5 separate regions of the Homo sapiens genome follow, and regions 1, 2, 3 and 4 are each linked to region 5. Evidence: promoter capture Hi-C in human tissues and cell types (Jung and others, 2019). All regions are on one chromosome and are shown on one strand. Each heading gives the region's core, a stretch centred on a gene start or on the middle of the fragment in contact. The rest is flanking DNA. Distances are from core to core; before and after follow the strand shown.

Region 1 (2,700 bases), core at 139-2,638, 180 kb after region 5:
TTTTAAGTTCTGAGTATGTATGTACGTATTTTATACTATAATTGGTACAGTTTGTCTCTTTGCGTTTATGTCATTACTGTTTTTTCATGTTTATAATTACAGCTTCAAAAAATGATTTTTCATATTCCTTTTTCTGGTATTCTGGCTTATGCTGCCATTAACTCTTACATATACCTTTTTGAGCCACTTGAATTATTTCCTCAGTTTTGGTGCTGGAAGTGGCATTCTCTGGTCAGAGACTGAGCATTGCCTTGGCTTTTTCTGTCTTGTTTTGTAGAGAGAGTCCACAGATTAGGCTACTGGGAGAAAGGCACCCTGTACCTGCCTCTTTTCCACCATTATCTTAATAATATGGAATTTAAATGTAAAATAGTACTTCACATCATTTTATATGGCATTTCTTTTGGTTGTTAAAAAAATGAATGCTGTCCAGGCGCGGTGGCTCACACCCATAATCCCAGTACTTTGGGAGGTCTTGGCGGGTGGATCACGAGGTGAGGAGTTTGAGACCAGTCTGGCTAACATGGTGAAACCCCGTCTCTACTAAAAGTACAAAAAAATTAGCCAGGCACAGTAGCGCGCCCCTGTAGTCCCAGCTACTTGGGAGGCTGAGGCAGAGAATCACTTGAACCCAGGAGGTGGAGATTTCAGTGAGCCAAGATCACGCTACTGCACTCCAGCCTGGGCAACAGAGTGAGACTCTGTCTCAAAAAAAAAAAAGAATGCTTTCCAAATATGAGAAATCTATTTGTATTTTCTTATATGGTACTAGTTTGGTAATATTTTGCCCTTTTATCTGGTATAGTCCATATTATTTTAAAAATAAGTTTGGGTAAACTTTCTATCCAAGTTTTTGACCTTTTGAAATTTTCAATGCAAAATTTCCCTAGGTGGTTATGCTATTTTTTTAATTGAGTTAGAGATGTTAATATATGACTGATAACCTCAAACACTGCTGGACACATAGGCACTCAGTAAATATTTATTGAATATGCACATCATCTTTTTTAAAAAAAAAACAATGATTGTTCCTGAGAAGGCTCCCCTTTTTTCCATAGAGCTGGTAAATATATTTTATGAAAGTTTTTCTTAAAGTGTTTGACTTTTTGATAACTCTGGAATTTATTTGGGAGTACAGTGGAATGTTAATGTGTTTTAAAATTGCTAGGCAAATGGTATGTTCTTTCATATTTCCTTGTTTTAGGAAGGTTTCTTGATTTGAAATTGTCATCTGGCCTATTATAGGGCTAGGAATTGCTTTTCTATCCCTCAATCCTTGTCTTTGAGAAAATCGGCTCATTTATGTTTTCAGAAAGCGTTTATCATTCCACATAAAAATCTGTTGAAAGGAGGTTGAAGAATATGTTATGTTAAGAGAGTCAATATCCTGAGAGTAGGGATTAAGGTTAGTTTGATACCCATGAGCTATTATCTTCCATTTTTGTTCATGTCTGCCCTGCACCTTTTTTTCCTCTGAAAGATTAGTTAAATCCCTTGACATCTGTAGGATAGGTCTGGGAGATGGAGACTATAGTGATACCTCCTCCTGAGGTCACAGTTGGTGTTAGTTTGTTTGGCCCTCTGCCATTGTTGTTCAAATCTTGAACCTTGTAGAAGACTCAGACAAGTACATGGTATTATCCCTCCTCCTTAGATTTTATAATCTTAGGATTTAAAACCTTTTCATATCATTGAAATGTTAAATGAAAATAAAAGATTTTTCAAATAATTCAATAGGATGATACAGGAGAGAAAGTATCCTTTAATAATACGTAACATTTTTTAAGTGCAGACCGTGTGCCAGGTGCACAGTTATAAGGACTTTCTAAATGCCTTCCTTGTATTGTTGAATATAATCTTCAAAATAACACTTTGAGTGAGGCCCATACCATGATTATCCCCAATTTACAGACAAGGAAACTGGGAACAAAGCAGAGGTTAAGTAACTTGCAATAGGTGAGGTGAGCATATGCCCATAGGTAGCATGGATCCTAAGTACCACCCTTGCTATCTCTAAGATTCTTTCTTGCACCCTCTGGAACTCTTGGTTAGTCTTCAGCTAAATCCGCCAAATTCTCACCCTGTTCTCTCAGTGCAGCTTTCACTTTCCAGCTGTAGCTGAAGCTTGGCTTGCCCTGTAGGCTTCTCAAACAATGGCTCTGTCCTCTTCTACCTTCCTTGTAACACTGACAGGAAATGGGTGAATGTCTCTATTGATTCTCTTGGCTGCTTCCAGAGCATTCTCTCTCCCTTCTCCCTGAAAGCTTCTTAAAACTTCGCATTATGGCTGGCCATCGTGGCTCACACCTGTAATCCCAGCACTTTGGGAGACTGAGGTGCGAGAATTGCTTGAGCCTAGGAGTTTGAGACCAGCTGGGGCAACACAGTGAGACCCCATCTCTCAAAAAATTAAAAAAAAATAGCTGGGCATGATGGTGCACACATGTAGTCCTAGCTATTCAGGAGGCTGAGTTAAGAAGATTGCTTGAGCCTGGGAGGTCAATGCTGCAGTGAGCTGTGATCGTTCCACTGTACTCCAGCCTGGGTGACAGAGTGAGATTCTATCTCAAAAAAAAAATTAAAATTAAACTTAACATTATTATATTTTACCAGCCACTGCTTCTCCTTGTTTTAGTCATCTAACAATCCCCAGGTTGTTCCTTCTTATTTCCACATATAGATGATTCTTCCAATGTCTGG
Region 2 (2,700 bases), core at 85-2,584, 150 kb after region 5:
ATGACATGATTGTATATCTAGAAAACCCCATTGTCTCAGCCCCAAATCTCCTTAAGCTGATAAGCAACTTCAGCAAAGTCTCAGGATACAAAATCAATGCACAAAAATCACAAGCATTCTTATATACCAATAACAGAAAAACAGAGAGCCAAGTCATGAGTGAACTCCCATTCACAATTGCTTCAAAGAGAATAAAATACCTAGGAATCCAACTTACAAGGGACGTGAAGGACCTCTTCAAGGAGAACTACAAACCACTGCTCAATGAAATAAAAGAGGATACAAACAAATGGAAGAACATTCCATGCTCATGGATAGGAAGAATCAATATAGTGAAAATGGCCATACTGTCCAAGGTAATTTATAATTCAGTGACAAGTTTTTGTATTATATCGTCATTCTTTGTCATCTTTGATACCTTTTTCAAAATTGAGTTGACTTAAAATCTTTGTACCCTATTTTATTGGTATTTAAGTATTTTTGGTGTCTCAGGTGGCTGCGCTACATAATTATAGAAATCACTACAAGGTGGATTTCTATTTACAAATAATAAATGAAAAATACATTGCATACAATGAGATACTTCATACCTGTTAGGATGGCTGGTATTAAAAACAGAAAATAGCCAAGATGTGGAGATGTTGGAACCCTTGTGCATTACTCATGGGAATGTAAAATGGTTCAGCTGCTGTGGAAAACAATTTGGTGGTTCCTCAAAAAGTAGTTAAACATAGAATTATCATAGGTAGAGCAATTTCACTCCTAGGTATATAACCAAAACACCTTTTTTTTTTTTTTTTTTTTTTTTTGAGACAGAGTCTTGTTCTGTCACCCAGGCTGGAGTGTAGTGGCGGGATCTTGGTTCATTGCAACCTCTGCCTTCTGGTTCAAGCAATTCTCCCACCTCAGCCTTCCGAGTAGCTGGGATTACAGGCATGCGCCACCACACTTGGGTAATTTTTTGTATTTTTAGTAGAGATGGTGTTTCACCATATTGACCAGGCTGGTCTCAAACTCCTGACCTTGTGATCTGCCTGCCTCAGCCTCCCAAAGTGCTGGGATTACAGGTGTGAGCCACCGTTCCCGGCCTACCCAAAATAATTTTAAGCAGGGAGTTAAACAGATAGTTATACTCCAGTGCTCATTGCAGCATTATTTACAGTAGTCAAAAGGTGAAAACATGGCACGTGCCTGTAATCCCAGCACTGGGGGGCCGAGGCGGGCGGATCACCTGAGGTCAGGAGTTTGAGACCAGCCTGACTAATATGGTAAAACCCCATCTCTACTAAATTAAAAAAAAAAAATTAGCTGGGTGTGGTGGTGTGCGCCTGTAATCCCAGCTACTCGGGAGGCTGAGGCAGGAGAATCTTTTGAACCCAGGAGGTGGAGGTTTCAGTGAGCGGAGATCACGCCATTGCACTCCAGCCTGGGCAACAAGAGCGAAACTGTCTCAAAAAAAAAAAAAAAAAAAAAGGTGGGCCAGGCCCTGTGGCTCATGCCTGTAATCCCAGCACTTTGGGAGGCCGAGGTGGGCGGATCACGAGGTCAGGAGATTGAGACCATCCTGGCTAACACAGTGAAATTCCGTCTCTACTAAAAATACAAAATATAAGCCGGGCGTGGTGGCGGGTGCCTGTAGTCCCAGCTACTCGGGAGGCTGAGGCAGGAGAATGGCGTGAACCCAGGAGGCAGAGCTTGCAGTGAGCCGAGATTGTGCCACTGCACTCCAGCCTGGGCGAGAGAGTGAGACTCCGTCTCAAAAAAAAAAAAAAAAAAAAAAAAAAAGGTGAAAACAAACCAGGTATCCAGGTATACATCCATAAATGAATGGATAAACAAAATATGGTATATATATACATAAGACCGAGTGTTGCTCTGTCTCCCAGGCTGGAGTGCAGTGGCACGATCCTGCTCACTGCAACCTCCACCTCCTGGGTTCAAGCAGTTCACTTGCCTCAGCCTCCCGAGTAGCTGGGATTACAGGCGTGTGCCACCATGCCTGGCTAGTTTTTGTATTTTTAGTAGAGACGGGGTTTCACCATGTTAGCCAGGCTGGTCTCAAACTCCCAACCTCAGGTGATCCACCCGTCCCGCCTCGACTTCCCAAAGTGATGGGATTACAGGCATGAGCCACCATACCTGACCATCCTTAAGAAGGAATGAAATTCTTATTCATGTTACAGCATTGAAAATATTATCCTAAATGAAATGAGCCAGATACAAAAGGACAAATAATGTATGATTCCACTTACAGAAGGTAACCAGAGTAGCTAAATTCATAGGGACAGAAAGTAGAAGAGAGCTAACCGAGGGCTTGGGGGAAGGTGTAATAGGGTGTTATTGTTTAATAGGTACAGAGTTTCAGTTTGGGATAATGAAAAAGTTCTGAAGTTGGATAATGGTGATGGTTGCACAATGTATGTACTTAATGACACTGAATTGTACACTTAAAATGGTGAAGTGGCACATTTTATGTACATCTTACCACAATTTAAAAAGGAAGAAAAAATGAATTGTATACCCAATGACATTAGAATAAGTCTACACTACTTAAATTAGAAATAGGATATGTTTCAACTCCAGAGCCAATAAAAAAAAGAACAAGAAGTATCATATGTAATAACTGTATATAGCAAGGAAGCTTTGCTTAGTGAGGTCCTTGTGACTAACCACCAATTCAGTTTATAAAATTGTATCCTA
Region 3 (2,700 bases), core at 39-2,538, 210 kb after region 5:
TCAGTCCTGAATCACATACAATAAGTCTTCACCTAACATCATGAATCACATATAGTAAGTACTTCAACATTGTTGGTAGTCTTGGAAACTGCAACTTTAAGCAAAACAACCTATAATGAAACCTTTTTTTCCCCTCATCAGTGTTATAACTGTGTTATTTGAGGACCTTCTATACATTGTTTTGCTTAAAGTCACAGTTTTCAAGAACCTATCAACCACATTGAGGACTTACTGTATTTCATTTGGTTGTCATGTTGTTATTTTAGTCTCCTCTAACCTAGAAATGCTCCCTTTCCGCCCCTGTTATTCTATATCTCATGACACATGTGTTTGAAGAGTCCAGACTAGAAGAAGAAAAGTGACTCAGAACAAGCGGCTTCCAGCAGGCAACCCACAGGCTAGGTACAGATGTCTGTGTTTGGTCTGTATTGAACATGAAAATTTAAATTTATTGCCAGTGTTTAAATAGGAGATTTCTGGCAACACTGGGCTCACATTCCAGTCAGTGTGGGTAACACGTCAGTTGCAAGCCATCCTTTTTAGTATTTGTTAGCTTATACAGTATTCAACGCACGTGGAACTAAATACACTTTTTGGTGATACTCAATTATCTTGGTAGTACAGTCACTCTGATAGAACATAAAATCACATGGAATTATGCAGTCATAAAATTATTCTCTTTTCAGGTCTTCAGTCTACATTTCTCCAAAGAGAAAGTCTCTTTTTTTAATTGAACCTGGTATTCTTTAGTGACTTCCTAATAATTACTGATCTCCCTGACAGGGATGCTGGCCCCAGACTGAGACCATTGTTTCATTAGAATTTAATAGTATTATTTTCTTTTCATTATACTTATTGACATAGTTGATGTCTGGTTATGGCAGGCAATATTTGTAAGTAATTGTATGTGCTGTATGCAAATGAAGCAATATTAGCTGTCTTATAATATATCTCATTTATTGAGTATCTGTTGTTTCATAAATACTTTCCTAGGTTTTTTTCCTTTGGTCATAAAAATTGATGACCTGGAATCTTTGTTATACCCTTTTTACATATGAAGAAACTGGAGTTCACCGGACGTGGTGGCTCACGTCTGTAATCCTAGCACTTTGGGAAGCCAAGGTGGGTGGATTACATGAGGTCAGGAGTTCGAGACCAGCCTGGCCAACATGGCAAAACCCTGTCTCTACTAAAAATATAAAAATTTGCCAGGCGTGGTGGCACAGGCCTGTAGTCCCAGCTACTCAGGAGGCCGAGGCAGGAGAATCGCTTGAACTCGGGAGGTAGAGGTTGTGGTGAGCTGAGATCACACCACTGCACTCCAGCCTGTGTGACAGAGTGAGACTCCGTCTCCAGAACAAAAAAAAACAAACAAGATACTGAAGCTCAGTGAGGTTAAGTGACGTGTTTCGCTAGTCAAAAGTTGTGCTGTTCCAAAAGATAACCTCTAAGGCCATAGCAGCCCTTTAGATCTGATGCTCCTGTTAAGGTCAACAGCTGTAGGAAGGTGGGAGCATATGACTTTACACATGACATAGTGGAGCCATCAGGCAGGTGACAGTCATGTGGGTGTGGCTGGGAGAACATGGACCATAATTTAGATAATATTTTTGTGTAAATTTTGGGAAGCTTTTTCAAAACAATACTGCCTCAGAAGACTTGCCAGTTTGCTGTCTGCTGAGGTACATGGAGGTGCAAAGCTGAATGGTCCCAGGAAAGCATTTGTTTCAGACAACCTTTAGGTTTCTGCTTGAATGTGGGGACTTCTGTTACATAGTCACAAATTGAGATAATTATGGTCACTGCTTTTTTTCAGCATATGTAAAGGCTATTTTTTTCTTCTTGTGCATACCCTGCAGGAACAGCTTTCTCAAGTTCTCGATGCCATGTTTGAAAGGATAGTCAAAGCTGATGAGCATGTCATTGACCAAGGAGATGATGGAGACAACTTTTATGTCATAGAACGGTAGGAGATGGAGCTTTGAAATTGTGTGGCCACACTTAATCGGATTCATGACTCAGGGCAGATGCTTTATCCTATTCTGTATTCAGCCCAGAGAGGCTAAGGGCCAGGTGAACAAGCTTCCCAAAGCCTTGTGAGAGTCCACAGCTTGTCCCTCTCTACCAGTGCTGTCCTGAGTCCTCAGCACAACTCATATTTGAAGAGCAATCATTTAGAGTAGAAAGTCTCCTTTAGGCCAGGCGCAGTGGCTCATGCCTGTAATTGCAGCACTTTGGGAGGCCAAGGCCGGTGGATCGCTTGAGGTGAGGGGTTTGAGACCAGCCTGGCCAGTATGGTGAAACCCCGTATCTACTAAAAATACAAAAATTAGCCGGATGTGGCAGTGCATGCCTGTAATCCCAGCTGCTTGGGAGGCTGAGGCTGGAGAATCACTTGAACCTAGGAGGCTCACGCCTGTAATCCTAGCAAAGGTTGTTGCAGTGAGCTGAGACCCCGCCACTGCACTCCAGCCTGGACAACAGAGCAAGACTCCATCTCAAAAAAAAAAAAAGAAAGTCTCCTTTACAGTTAGTAAGGAGTGCAGGGTGTGCTTTATAAACATGTTATTTGCCAGTGTCAAGTGAATTGATTCCTTGAAGAATTAGCCATGGTACTATAGTCATTTGAATGTTTGTATTTGAGCCTGATTTTACTCATGAATACACTGCCCTGACCTTAACCCCTCTGGCTCAGATCTA
Region 4 (2,700 bases), core at 61-2,560, 240 kb after region 5:
AGCACTTTAGGAGGCTGAGGCGGGCAGATCACGAGGTCAGGAGATTGAGACCATCCTGGCTAACACAGTGAAACCCTGTCTCTAATAAAAATACAAAAAATTAGCCAGGCATGGTGGCGGGCGCCTGTAGTCCCAGCTACTCGGGAGGCTAAGGCAGGAGAATGGCGTGAACCCGGGAGGCAGAGCTTGCGTGAGCTGAGATCACACCACTGTACTCCAGCCTGGGCAACAGAGCAAGACTCTGTCTCAAAAAAAAAAAAAAAAAAAGTTAATAAGTATGGAAAAAGAAGAATATTACTGTCTGTAAGATAGCTGGATTTGTTTTCTCTCTCTCTCTTTTTTTTTTTTTGAGTGAGTCTTGCTCTGTTGCCCAGGCTGGAATGCAGTGGTGCAATCTCAACTCACTGCAACCTCCAACCCCCTAGTTTCAATCGATTCTCGTGCCTCACCCTACTGAGTAGCTGAAGGTAGCTTGATTCTTTTTTATTTTAAGCTAGAGTGTCGCTCTTGTTGCCCAGGCTGGAGTGCAGTGGCGTGATCTCAGCTTACTGCAACCTCCGTCCCTGGGTTCAAGCGATTCTCCTGCCTCAGCCTCGCAAGTAGCTGGGACTATAGGCTCCCACCACCAAGCCCAGCTAATTTTTTGTACTTTTAGTAGGGACAGGGTTTCCCCATGTTGGCCAGGCTGGTCTGGAACTCCTGACCTCAGGTGATCCTCCTGCCTCTGCCTCCCAAAGTGCTGGGATTACAGGCATGAGCCACCGGCGCCCATGTGATAGCTTGATTCTTAATTAAAAGTAGATCTTTGAGACCAGCCTGACCAACATGGAGAAACCTCATCTCTACTAAAAATACAAAATTAGCCGGGCGTGGTGGCACATAGCTGTAGTCACAGCTACTCAGGAGGCTGAGGCAGGAGAATCGCTTGAACCCGGGAGGCGGAGGTTGCAGTGAGCTGAGATCGCACCATTGCACTCCAGCCTGGGCAACAAGAGCCAAACTCTGTCTCAAAAAAAAAAAAAGAAAAAAGTAGATCTGTTGTTTCAACTGAAAACAATAGTTTTGGCCTGGCATGGTGGCTCACGCTTGTAATTCCAGCACTTTGGGAGGCCGAGGCAGGCGGATCACGAGGTCAGGAGATCGAGACCATCCTGGCTAACATGGTTAAACCCCGTCTCTACTAAAAAACACAAAAAATATTAGCCAGGTGTGGTTGCGGGCACCTGTAGTCCCAGCTACTCAGGAGGCTGAGGCAGGAGAATGGCATGAGCCCAGGAGGCAGAGCTTGCAGTGAGCTGAGATCACACCACTGCACTCCAGCCTGGGCAACAGAGTGAGACTCTGCTCAAAAAAAAAAAAAAAAGAAAACAATAGTTTGAAATGTCTGTGTCATTTTACTTACAGTTTTTGGACTAGTGATGTTTGTAGATTTCTCAGATATTCATTGACACCTGCTATGATCACAGCATAGTGTTAGGTGCATAAGATCAGCAGCAGCATGGCACTGGGATATTGGGGATGGGTGGTTTGTCAGAAGTTCAGAGTCCTGGCTTTTCCCCAGATTTACTGAATCAGAATGTGCATTGCGAGAAAACCTGCGTAATACGGGAGCTGGTGTGTATGTGACAGTGTGATAAGTCCCTTCTGTTTTAGAGAAGGGACTAAGTGGGCACGAATATGGCTGCAACTCCAGAGAATACTACTGAAATTGGAAAGGGAAAGTTGGCTCAGATGAAACAGACCAACTTCAGAGCAACAGGGCAGAAGTGTAGAAGGAAGAAGGGTCAAACCGTGTAAGCTAGTGTAGCAGTTTTGTTTCTTTTAAAAATTAACCAAAAAGGAAATTATCTTTCTGCCTACAACATAAAGTGGTTCTTAGAGATTGAGACTAATTCTTACTAATAAATTCTAAACAATTATTTACTTAAATTATCACTTTGGTTAGCAGTTGGATTTGTTAAAAAAAAAAACCTCTAGATATTAATATAATGTAGTATATTATCTTAAATTTAGTTACTTAACTCTTATTTTAAAAAATGGGAGGGGGGAGTGCCTATAATCCCAGCACTTTGAGAGGCCGAGGCGGGCAGATTATGAGGTCAGCAGATGGAGACTATACTGGCGAACATGGTGAAACCCTGTCTCTGCTAAAAATACAAAAAAATTAGCCAGGCGTGGTGGCGGGCGCCTGTGGTCCCAGCTACTTGGGAGGTTGAGGCAGGAGAATGGCATGAACCTGGGAGGCAGAGCTTGAAGTGAGCGGATATTGCGCCACTGCACTCCAGCCTGGGCGACAGAGCGAGACTCCATCTCAAAAAAAAAAAAAAAAAAAAAAAAAAAAAAAAAAGGAGGAGGGAACCACTAACTTAAGGTACAAATAGTACTTAAAAAGAAATTTGTTGGCCAGGAGCAGTGAATCACTCCTGTAATCCGAGCACTTTGGGAGGCCAAGATGGGAGGATTGCTTGAGGCCAACAGTTGAAGGCTGCATGAGCTGTGATCATTCCTCTGAACTCCAGCCTTGGTGACAGAGTGAGACCCTGTCTCTTAAAAAAAAATGTGGGGGGCATGGGGGATTTTGTCACTGTAAAATGTTGTTCAAGGCGCAGTCTCAAATCAGAGAAATAGCCCAAGTTTGTGGCTCATTACCTAAGAGAAGCATTGTCCTTATTTAGACAAGATTGGGCATGTTCAGAATGG
Region 5 (2,700 bases), core at 117-2,616:
CCTAACTTTCCCCCTCACTGGCCTGAGTAGGATCTACACCCACTTCACAGAGGGGTTGCAGGAATTAAATGAAATAATCATATGAAGGCAAGCACATAACTAGAGCTCAGAAACGATGAGCTATGTTGTGGCTCCAACTGGAGTCACCCTAGAAAGCTTTGCCCATGATGGCTGAACAAAGACTTCACCTTAAGAAGAATCTCAGAGTGCTGGCAGCAAAAGCTGAGCCTCTGACTGGTACTCCAGTGGAGGAGGCTGGGGGGGTACCAGTTTATCTACATTTGGACGGCCTGCTTCTCATCAGACCACAAGGCCCACTTCGGCAGTGGGATTTTCCCCAGAGGTCCTGAGGTCGGCAGAAAGCTGGTTATCAGTCTCCCACCTTCCTCCCAGTTCTAGAAGGTGACAGAATTAATGGTGGCACGGAAGACAGGTGCAATGAAACGTTTAGACACCAGCCTCAGGCTCACCCTGCCAGCCCTGTGATGGAAGAATGGACTGCAGGGAGTTGGGATAAGAGGGAGTGTTACCCTATTTCGAGGACGGGGAAGGTCCTTCACTTTGGTAATCCTCTGGAAGGGCTGCTCTGAAGCAGCCATTTTCAAAATAGAGGTCACGTGGTCACAACGAGCCTCAAGGTGGCCACCAAACCGCAGCCCCTGGCCCTTCCCAGGAGTATCTGGCGGACTTACCGAAGAGCAGCGGCTTGAGGCTGAGGGTTCGGATGAAGTGATCCCTGTCGGTGACCAGCTGGACCTTACGCTCGTGCCCCACCTAAGGAAAAGGCGCACAGCGGGCAGCTGGGGCGCCAGACCGCGCTGCCCAAGAAGGGCCAAGTCGCCCCGGCCCGGAGAGCGACAGCAGGCGAGTGAGTGGGAGCGCGCGGGACCGACGCAGAGCAGCGCCGGGGGCAGCGTGGGGACCCGGGCTGAGCGCCGGTCCTCTCGGGCTCAGCCGTGCAGGGCCTGGAGCGCGGCGGGGCAGGGAGGTCCTCACCTTGATGCCCTCCAGCCGGGTGAGGGGACCTAAGGTGGGCTCGGGCCCGGGGCCCTGGGCACGGTGTTGGGGCCCGGGATCGCTGCTTTCGTCGCCGTTGCTGTAGTGCACGAAGAGCAGCAGCGCCAGCACGTTACCCAGGTACAGGTGCACGAACACCATCAGCACCAGGAAGTAGGCGCGCGAGCAGATGCCGCGGGGCTTGCACAGCGGACGCACCGGTGCGTCCTCGCCGTCGCCCAGCCCGGCCGCCGCCTGAGCCTGGCAGTGGTCTGGCGGCGCCCACTGCGGCCTCGAGGCCTCCTCGGCCGCCGCGGTCTCAGGCCGCTGGCCTGTCACCGCCGCTGCCGCCATGGCACCCAGGTCGCGCGCGCGCCCAGGGGAGGGGCCGCGGGGGTGCCCGCGCTGCGCAGTCGCCCGGACAACGGCCGCCAGGCCCGCGAGCGCCGCGGTCACTAGGAGACGGTGCCTGGGGGTGCTGAGCCCGCCCGGAGCCGCCTGCGTCCGCGCCGGGCTCGGCCTTCCTGCGCCTTGAGCCCCAGCCCACGCTGGGGCTTCTCTTCCCAAGCTGGGTTGCCGTCGGGCAGAGCTGTACACTCTCCAAGTCAGAAGCCAAGGTCCCAAGCGTAGACGCGGACAAGAGCGGCACCATTAAGGCATACACTAGTGGGAGCTTCTCGGTGCCTGCGTGAAGACGCCCTCTTGCCTCCGGGAAAAGTATCGTCTGCATCTTCTTGCTCCAGGAGCGGGGGTGGGGAGCGCAGCGCGGAGGAGGCAGCGCTGAGATGACTCAACAGTGCGGCATTTGGGGGCGCCGCGGAGGCTGGGACTGCGTAAGCGGCGATAGGGTAGGACCCACAGCCTCCTCGCAGGCATTCTTGGAGCTCGGTTCCGCGGTCGGTCCGGATCTCCCGGGAAGTCTCGCCGGAGTCAGGCAGGCCTTAGGAAGAAGCTGCCTGATGTGCAAGGTTTCATAGGCCGTCAGAGGGGGCATCCTGGAGGAGCCCTGGCATCAGGAAAGTGAGCCCCCCATGGCAGCCCGCAGGAATGAACCAGTGCTCAGGTATATGGAACACTCCTTGCATCAAAGCTGGCACGTGTGAAGAGGCGGGAAGGGACTCTTCCATAACTGAGACACCATTACCTCAGAGAAAAATTAAACAGATTATCACCAAAAACGGGGGTGGGGGGAGGACATACCTACCAGTGGTCAAGTGCCAAGGCATCCCTGCTCTTCTAGAGCTGGTTATCCTCAGGAAGAGATTACTACACGCCCTCAGGGCAGAAGCTGACCCCCCTCCCCGAGGTGGACTTGCAGGCAAGAGCAACACTTTTAAGGCAGGTCACACTGGTGGTTTCTCCCTACCCTGGTTAAGACCCCCACTACCTCTACTCCCATCTCCTCTCCCTTCCCCATAGCAAAGCATAGTCTGCATTTTCTAGTCCCCTCAAGTCAAGGCAGGCCAGGGGCTCCAAGGGCAGGCCCACCTCTTTCTTCTAAGATTTTTTGTGTGTGTGTGACGGAGTCTCACTCTGTCGCCCAGGCTGGAGTGCAGTGGCGCGATCTTGGCTCACTGCAACCTCTGCCTTCCGGGTTCAAGCAATTCTCCTGCCTCAGCCTACCAAGTAGCTGGCATGCGCCACCATGGCGGGCCAATTTTTTTTTTTGTATTTTTATTTATTATTATTTAGTTTTAATTTTTT

The links. The method cuts DNA at HindIII sites, captures the fragments that hold promoters and counts their contacts. A contact is called where the count stands out against the background at its distance.
Region 1: a fragment that was not itself captured here is called in contact with the fragment with the promoter of P4HTM in region 5 in 4 of the 25 tissues and cell types used here (IMR-90 fibroblasts, aorta, mesendoderm cells and 1 more).
Region 2: a fragment that was not itself captured here is called in contact with the fragment with the promoter of P4HTM in region 5 in 1 of the 25 tissues and cell types used here (heart right ventricle).
Region 3: a contact is called between a fragment that was not itself captured here and the fragment with the promoter of P4HTM in region 5, in 1 of the 25 tissues and cell types used here (hippocampus).
Region 4: a fragment that was not itself captured here is called in contact with the fragment with the promoter of P4HTM in region 5 in 2 of the 25 tissues and cell types used here (IMR-90 fibroblasts and lymphoblastoid cells).

Annotation. Positions count from the first base shown.
Region 1 is chr3:48,804,798-48,807,497 of GRCh38, reverse strand. All of the region lies in intron 2 of PRKAR2A (protein kinase cAMP-dependent type II regulatory subunit alpha), which reads left to right. Among named protein-coding and RNA genes, the nearest start is that of PRKAR2A, 42 kb to the left of the region's middle. The HindIII fragment of the contact is 5,640 bases long and covers 1-2,700 here.
Region 2 is chr3:48,839,653-48,842,352 of GRCh38, reverse strand. All of the region lies in intron 1 of PRKAR2A (protein kinase cAMP-dependent type II regulatory subunit alpha), which reads left to right. Among named protein-coding and RNA genes, the nearest start is that of PRKAR2A, 6.9 kb to the left of the region's middle. The HindIII fragment of the contact is 5,871 bases long and covers 1-2,700 here.
Region 3 is chr3:48,782,252-48,784,951 of GRCh38, reverse strand. PRKAR2A (protein kinase cAMP-dependent type II regulatory subunit alpha) reads left to right here. Exons shown (of 11, transcript NM_004157.4): 5 at 1,860-1,966. Among named protein-coding and RNA genes, the nearest start is that of PRKAR2A, 64 kb to the left of the region's middle. The HindIII fragment of the contact is 6,575 bases long and covers 1-2,700 here.
Region 4 is chr3:48,752,564-48,755,263 of GRCh38, reverse strand. All of the region lies in intron 9 of PRKAR2A (protein kinase cAMP-dependent type II regulatory subunit alpha), which reads left to right. Among named protein-coding and RNA genes, the nearest start is that of IP6K2, 37 kb to the right of the region's middle. The HindIII fragment of the contact is 7,790 bases long and covers 1-2,700 here.
Region 5 is chr3:48,988,907-48,991,606 of GRCh38, reverse strand. P4HTM (prolyl 4-hydroxylase, transmembrane) reads right to left here and starts at 1,366. Exons shown (of 9, transcript NM_177939.3): 1 at 997-1,366; 2 at 693-774. The coding sequence starts at 1,350. LOC124909376 (a long non-coding RNA gene) reads left to right here and starts at 1,735. Exons shown (of 2, transcript XR_007095903.1): 1 at 1,735-2,059. RefSeq lists enhancers at 394-955, 1,613-1,772, 1,520-2,082, 2,083-2,646 and a silencer at 1,123-1,502. The HindIII fragment of the contact is 19,056 bases long and covers 1-2,700 here.